Regions from separate parts of the Homo sapiens genome. Here region 1 is linked to region 2. The links are contacts of gene promoters, found by promoter capture Hi-C in human tissues and cell types (Jung and others, 2019). All regions are on one chromosome and are shown on one strand. The core of a region is centred on a gene start or on the middle of the fragment in contact, and the rest is flanking DNA. Distances in the headings are between cores, read along the strand shown.

Region 1 (3,955 bases), core at 510-3,009, 49 kb before region 2:
ATGTAATAGTCTGATTATGATGCTGAATAAATGTCTTTTTAAAAAAAAAGAAGAAAGAAGAAAAATGAACAACAAAGTTGGGAGATTCACACTTCCTAATTTCACATCTACTACAAAGGTACAGTAATAAAAACCGTGTGGTACTTGCATAAGAATGAACGTACAGATTAATGAAACAAAATTGAGAGTCCATTTAAAAACCCCTTTATATTTCCTGTGAATTGATTAATAGCAAGGTTGCCAAGATAATTCAATATAGATAAAATAGTCTTTTCAGCAAATGGTGATGAGTCAACTAGATATTCACATACAAAAGAATGAAGCTGAATTCCTACATGACACCATATATAGAAATTAGCTCAAAATGAAGTACATACCTACATATAAGAATTAAAAATATAGAAGTCTTAGAAGAAAGCATAGAAGTAAATAGAATAGGCAATAGTTTTTAGAAATAATTTTAAAAGCACAAGCAACAAAAAAACACTAGATAAATTGGAGTTCATAAAAATTAAAAACATATTTCTGGGTATATACCCAAAATAATTGAAATCAGGGACTCAAACAGATATTTGTCCCCTAAAGTTCAGAGAAGCATCATTCACAATAGCCAAAAGGTGGGAACAACCCAAATGTCCATTGATGGATGATTGGATAAACAAAATGTATATGTATATGCATGTATGTATGTATGTGTGTATATACAATGAAATATTATTCACCCTTAAAAAGGAAGGAAATTCTGACACATGCTACAACATAGGTGAACCTGGAAGACATTATGCTAAGTGAAATAAGCCAGTTACAAAAAGACAAGTAAATACTGTGTGATTCCATTTACTTGATGTACCTAGAGTCATCAAATCCTTAGGGACAGAAAGTAGAATGGTGGTTGCCAAGGACTGAGAAGAAGAGAAAATGTTTAATAGACACAGAGTTTCAGTTTGGGAAGATGAAAAAGTACTGGAGATGGATGGTGGTGATAGTTGCACAAGAACATAAATGTACTTAGTGCCACTGAAATGTACACTTAAAATGGTTAAAATTATAAATTTTATGTTCTGTATATTTCACCACAATAAAACAATGAAAAACTTGTGCTTCAAGGGGCACCAGTAAGATAGTGAAAAGATAACACACAGAATGAGAGAAAATATTTTCAAATCATTTATCTGATAAGGGTTGAGTATCCAGAATATATATTTAAAACTTTAATAATTCAACAATAAAAAGACAAATAACATTGACAAATGGGCAAAGGTTTTCCAGTCTGGCATGTAAAGAGCTTGGAAGTTATCACTCTGTCCTAACAACAAATAAAAAGCTAAACAAACTGAAAAATAAACCACTGTTCTTAGAGCCATCAGAGAAATGAGGTCCCAGGATTATAATAACTGTCTTTCATTCCTAATCCTAAAATAACAGTAACAACACAGAGCTTACACCCTTCACAAAAATTCACACAAAACTAATCATAGACCTAAATGTAAAATGCAAAACTCTAAAATTCCTAGAAGATAATATAAAAGCAAATTTCAATGACCTTGGGTGGTAATTGTTTATGTATAACAACAAAGGCACAATCCATAAAAGATATAATTTGTAAACTGGACTTAATTAAAATTAAGAATCTCTGCTCTGTGAAAGACACTATCAAGTGAATGAGAAGATTGGGAGAAAATACTTGCAAATGACATATCTGATAAAGAATTGTTAATAATATATACAAAGAACTCTTAAAATTCAACAAAAAGAAAATAAATAACTTGATTTTTTTTTTTTGAGACGGAGTCTCGCTCTGTAGCCCAGGCTGGAGTGCAGTGGCGCCATCTTGGCTCACTGCAAGCTCCGCCTCCTGGGTTCACGCCATTCTCCTACCTCAGCCTCCCTAGTAGCTGGGACTACAGGTAGCCGCCACCACACCCGGCTAATTTTTTGTATTTTTAGTAGAGACGGGGTTTCACTGTGTTAGCCAGGATGATCTCGATCTCCTGATCTGCCCGCCTCGGCCTCCCAAAGTGCTGGGATTACAGGTGTTAGCCACCGCGCCTGGCATAACTTGATATTTTTAAAGGCAAATCTAAATGAACACCTCACCAGAAAATATATATGTATGGTGAATGTGCATATGAAAAGATGCTCAATATCATATGTCATGAGGGAATTGCAGATGGAAACAATGAGATACCACTACACACCTATTAGAATAACCAAAATCCAAAACACTGACAACACCAAATGCTGGTGATGATGTGAAGCAACAGGAACTCTCATTTAGTGCTGGTGGGAATGCAAAATGGTACACCCACTTTGGAGGACAGTCTGGCAGTTTCTTATAAAACTAAACATGCTCTTATGGTACAATCCAGCAATTGTGCTCCTTGGTATTTACCCAAGTGGGTCAAAAACCTATGTCCACACACAAAAAAACCCTGCACATTATTGTTTATAGCAGTTTTATTCATAATTGCCAAAACTTGGAAGCAACCAAGATTTCCTTCGGTAGGTGAATGGATAAGCTCTGGTACATCTGGACAGTGGAGTATTGTTCAGCACTCAAAAGAAATTGGCTATCAGGCCATGAAAACACATGGAGGAATCTTAAGTGCATATTATTAAGTGAAAGACACCAATCTGAAAAGGCTCCATACTGTGTGATTCCAATCAGATGATATTCTGGAAAAAGCAAAACTATGGAGACAGTAAAAGGATCAGTGGTTGCCAGGGGGATGGTGAGATGAATAGGTAAAGCACAGGGAATTTTTAGAGCAGTGGAACTATTCTGTATGATACTATAATGGTAGACACATGTTATTATGTATTTGACAAAACTTATAGAATGTACACCAAGAGTGAACCTAATGTAAATTATGAACTTTGGGTAATAATGATGTGTCAATGTAGGTTCATCAATTATAATAAAAGTACTATTCTGGTGAAGGAGTTAATAGTGGAGGTGCTGTGCATGCTGGGGGGTAGGGGGTATATGGGAAATGTCTGCACTTTCTGCTCAACTTTGCTACAAATCTAAAACTGCCCTAAAATCGTCTTTAAAAACAAAAAGCAGGCCAAGAGTTTCAATAGACATTTCTTTAAAGAAGATATACAAATGGCCAATGAACACATGAAAAGATACCTAATATCTTTAGTCGTCAAGGAACTGCAAATAAAAACCAAAAGGAGATACCACTTCACAACCACTAGAATAGCTATAAAAAAAATACAAAAAATAAGTGTTGGTGAGGATGTACAGAAATTGAAATCTTCATGTGTTGTTTGTAGGAATGTAAAATGGGTTAGCTGTTTTGGAAAACATTTTGGCAGTTCCTTAAAATATTAAACATCAAGTTACCACCATATGATCCAGCATTCCCACTGCTGGGTATATATCCAAAAGAAGAAAACTCAGTATATCCAAGAGATATCTGCACTCCCATGTTTGTTGCAGCACTATATGCAATAGCTAAGACATGGAATCAACCTAAGTACCCATCAACAGGTGAATGGATAAAGGAAATGTGATAACATATACTCAATGGAATATTATTCAGGCATAAAAAAGAATGAAATCCTGTCACTTGCAACAACGTGAGTAGAACTGAAAGTCATTATATTAAGTGTAATAAGCCAAGCACAGAAATGTTGCATGTTCTTATTCATATATAGGAGCTAAAAAGGTTGATTGGTCTCATGAAGGTAAAGGGTAGAATGATGGTTACCAGAGGCTGGGAAGGGTAATGGGGAGTGGGGGATAAAGAAGGGTTGGCTAATGGTTACAAAAATATAGTTAGATAGAAGGAATAAGATCTAGTTTTTGGTAGCACAATAGGGTGCCTATAGTTACAAAAAATTGTGTATTTCCAAATAACTAGAAGAATGGAAATAGAATGTTCTTAACATAAAGAAATGATAAATGTTTAAGGTGATGGATATCCCAGTTACCTTGATTTGATCA
Region 2 (4,047 bases), core at 362-2,861:
GTTCCTCTGACTTCTCCCAGCTCACAGGCGGCCTCAATGAGAAGAGCGCACACGCCTGGGGTCTTGCGTCCACTGGCCTGGAAAGCGAGGGCTATGCCCCCCAACTCTGTCTGAGATCAAGTCAGCTCCAGGGGAAAGCTGGAATGGCGGGTCTGGCACTCAGGCTGTAGGCCGAACGAGGCACCCCACCGGTAGCAGAGAGGCGCGGGTTGCCGGGGAAGGCAGGGCTGAAGTTGGGGGCGGTGCGGAGTGAGCAGCAGGGCCCAGCCTGCCTGCGGCCTCACGCCTCTCTGGCAGGAGACTGCGGAGACCGCCTCCCCGCCCGCTCTGGGGCTCGGCTCATAGGGCACGGAGATCCATTCACTCCCGCGGGGCGGCAGAGGACTGCCGGGCCCAGCTGGGCCGTAACGGCGGCGGCCAGAGACGCACTCACACCCCGACTCGAACTCCCTCCCTCCCTTTCTCTCTTGCAGACACGCACGCCTGCCATGTGTTTGACTCTTCGCTCATAGTCATCAGGATTCCTAAAGTGTTTTTAACAGAAAACACCTCCGTTTCCCCAAAGGAACCGGGGGGCTGCTGCGGAGATCAGCGGTACAGTGCTTCTCTCAGAGCCCGCCCCGCCTCTCAATTCTCTCCTCTCCTCATGACTTCTCCCCACCTCCAAAAAAAAAAAAAGTCCTGCAAATATTTTCCCCCAGCACACAGGGGCAAAGGTACCTTAAACCTGAAAGGTGCATTTAGATTTGTCCCAGGGCAAAAAAAAGTCCATTGCTTGCCAAGGATCAATGAATGTCCCAGTTCGTACCCCCGGGACGCCTTGCACCTAGTCTCCCCAGTCCAAGCTGCCCAAAGCCCCGCAACCCGCACCCTAGGAGAGCCATGGAAAGGGGCAAGGGGCAAGGGGTAAGGGGTAAGGGGAGGAGTCGGAGAGGCGCGTTGGAGGGGCGCCTCGGACCGGGAGGTATGGGGTCGGTGGCAGCGGGAGCGGCCAACCTTGCCCAAAATGCCAAGTGGGGCGTGCGGGGCCACTCACCTGCTTGGAACTCCACTTGGCGATTTTTTTCCTTTTCCTCCTCTAGCAGCATGGAGTAGAGGATCCCGACAGAGTTATGGATGCCGAAGATGGAGCCGTTGCACCAGGTGGCAGCGAACACCACCACCCAGCCGAAGCCACCTTCGGGAGGCTGGAAGCCGCGCGCGGTGCCGCGGGTCTCTACCGTAGGCGTGGGCTCGGGTTCGTGCACCCGCTCGGACTCGAACTCCAGCTCCGGCAGGGGTGCGGGGTCCGGTAGGGGCTGGGGCTCCGGCTGGGGCTCGGGCGGGGGCACTGGCACGGGCTCGGGCTCGGGCTCAGGCTCCGGCTCAGACTCCGGCTCTGGGCTACCCACCGGCTCCTGCTGTTCCTGGTCTGCCTCCTGCCAGGGCCCCTTTGCTTCCTCGCTCGCCTGGCTTTGCAGCGCCATCGCGGCGGGGGGACTGTGGCTGCTTGGGCCAGAGGAGCCGCTTTGTGGCTGGTACTTGTTTCTGCTGCTGCAGCTGCTGCTGCTCGGAGGGCTGCTGCTGCCGCTGCCGCTGCCTCCTCCTCCAGGCTCCGCGCCCCAGCTGGCCAGCCCGTCCCGCGACAGACGGTCCCTCGAGCCCTCTCCTCCTCCTCCCACGTCCAACCCCCCTCCTCCTCTCCCCATGTCATCTCTCTCTCCTCCCCCTCCTCCACACCCCCCACCTCTTCCTCCCTCAACAGGCAGCCGCTACAGCCTCGCTCTTCTCCCCAGCCCTTCCTCCTCCTTTTACTCGCCTACCTACTCCAGCCGCCACTGCCTCCCCCAGCTCCCTTCCCAAACTACTGAACCCTGTTCTTGCCCGGATGCCCGTTAGAGGAAAAGTTAAAATGGAAAAAAGGAAGCACAAACTATCCTGTTCTCCTGCCCTCTTTTCCCCGCAGGCTCTAGAACCGACACTGATCAACCCCGAGCCTCGGGAAGACCCCTCCTATTTTTTGCTCCCATACCCTCCTTCCTCACAAGCAGCCCGCAACTGAGGTGGCACCGGGGACCCTAGGACGACAGCTGGCCCGCGAGGAACCCCACCCTGCCCTCAGGAGCTCCCATGTCCCTCCTTGGACTTGAGGAGGACGACCTGAGGGGACAGCCTGGGCCTCGGACAGCGGGTGGACACAATCTTCTCGAGCCCGAGGACTCGGCCCCCCGCGGTCCTGCGCACCCCCGGGAGTCTCCCCCTGCCCCCGCTCTTCCCGGCAAATCCCTGGCGGCCTGGGAGGGGAGGAGGCGGCCATGCAGCGAGGCCCGCCCCTCCGGGCAGTCAATCAGGGCTTTGTTTGCGCCAACCTGGAGCCCGGAGGAGCCTCAGAGGGCCGGGTCTGGGCCGGGCCAGGGCCGGGCCGGGTCTGGGCCGGGCCAGGGCCGGGCCAGGGCCGAGTGTGGGCCAGGAGCCGGGCCAGGAAGGGAGGGAGGTGGCACCAGTGGGGGCCGGGCCCAGGCCCAGTCGGGAGCCGAAGCTCAGTTCAAGCTCCTCCCGACAATCTGTCCCGGACTTAGGAGGAACGAGTTGGAGTCGGGTCCAGCCGCCAGTTTGGGATTGGGCTGCCCCGCCCCCGATATCTCGGCTGGGCTGGTCCCTCAGGCCTCGGCCGCGGCTTTTCAGGTGCTGGAGACTCAGCGGAGCTGCAAGCGGACGGATGTCTTCCCAGCACCCACCGCCCCCTTCCGCCCACCTCAGGCATGCAGACATGGGAGTCCCACTGTATGTCGCAGACTGAGGCCCCAGCCCCACTGAGGGTAAGGGAGAGTTTGTTCCCCAGGAAGCGCGCCGGGTCAGGGAGAAGGAAAGGTGGGGGATCTGTCTTTCTGGTGGCCGGGCACTCAGCAGGGGTGCGCAGGGGTGCCCAGCCTCAGCCCTCAGGGCCCGCTCGGCGATACCGGGAAGCTCTGCCTCCCCTAAGGGTCTACGCGTCTAATGCACTAAACGTGAAGTCGTGGTGTCGTTACCAAGCTACTCGGCTTCCACGAGCGGGCGGGCGAGTGGCAAGACCTTTCTACCCTGCATCTCATTAACCCTCCTGATAAGTGAAAGACTGCATAGCCAGAGGTGATGCAGCTCCGGGGCTGCGTGGCTGCGCTAGATGCCTGTAAATACAGTCATTAAGCACCTGAGGGCTGGCGGAGCTGGGTGGAAGGATATAGACGTCCTGAGGGGCTTGCGCTGCCATATGAGAGGAATCAGCCAAATTCAAAAATCACAGGGCCACGCCACTCAGCAGGGAAGGCATTGCCCGAACAGAGCACGTCCCTTATTGCCCTAAGGTTTATTATTACCTGCTTTTTTGCACGAAAACTGAGGCTCAACGAGGTCAAGGCATTTATTAGCCTAAGATCATGGGCCAAGTCAAGGACAAGCTAGAATTCAAGGCAGGTCTCCATATAACGAGAAGCTTCATGCTCCCTGTGTTTCACCAAAAGAGTCTAGGATTTGAGGCTCCCTGGGAGGAGACAGAGGAGGGAAGGCAGGATCTGACTGCACTATCACAGTGGGCTTCTGGAAGAGGTGGTGTTCAAGATGGGCCTGGAATTTTTTTTTTCTTTTTGAGACAGTCTCGCTCTGTAGCCCAGGCTGGAGTACAGTGGCGCCATCTCGGCTCACTGCAACCTCCGATCCCTGGTTCAAGCGATTCTTCTGCCTCAGCCTCCCGAGTAGCTGGGATTACAGTCGTGCGCCACCACACCCGCTAAGTTTTGTATTTTTAGTAGAGATGGGGTTTCACCATGTTGGCCAGGCTGGTTTCAAACTCCTGACCTCAAATGATCCACCCGCCTCGGCCTCCCAAAGTGTTGGGATTACAGGCATGAGCCACCGTTCCTGCAAGGCCTGGAATGTTGAGTAGGATTTTAAAAGGCCAAGGGTAGGGGAAGGTGGTCCCCTACATCAGAGCATGCTTTGAGCTCAAAGCACAGAGCTATAGAGTCTACTCACAGAAAGAGGGAAGTGAAGGCTAATCAGGCCAGAAAGTTAATATGTATGCCGTCTGCC

The links. Contacts are between HindIII fragments. The study calls those that stand out against the background at their distance.
Region 1: a contact is called between a fragment that was not itself captured here and the fragment with the promoter of SLC16A2 in region 2, in 1 of the 25 tissues and cell types used here (ovary).

The regions. Positions count from the first base shown.
Region 1 is chrX:74,468,765-74,472,719 of GRCh38, reverse strand. The region is part of intron 1 of SLC16A2 (solute carrier family 16 member 2); the gene reads right to left. It also overlaps the pseudogene HNRNPA1P25. Among named protein-coding and RNA genes, the nearest start is that of SLC16A2, 49 kb to the right of the region's middle. The HindIII fragment of the contact is 8,235 bases long and covers 1-3,955 here.
Region 2 is chrX:74,419,057-74,423,103 of GRCh38, reverse strand. SLC16A2 (solute carrier family 16 member 2) reads right to left here and starts at 1,611. Exons shown (of 6, transcript NM_006517.5): 1 at 1,037-1,611. The coding sequence starts at 1,466. It overlaps LOC105373252 (a long non-coding RNA gene), which reads left to right and starts at 2,456. Exons shown (of 2, transcript XR_007068267.1): 1 at 2,456-2,798. The HindIII fragment of the contact is 17,504 bases long and covers 1-4,047 here.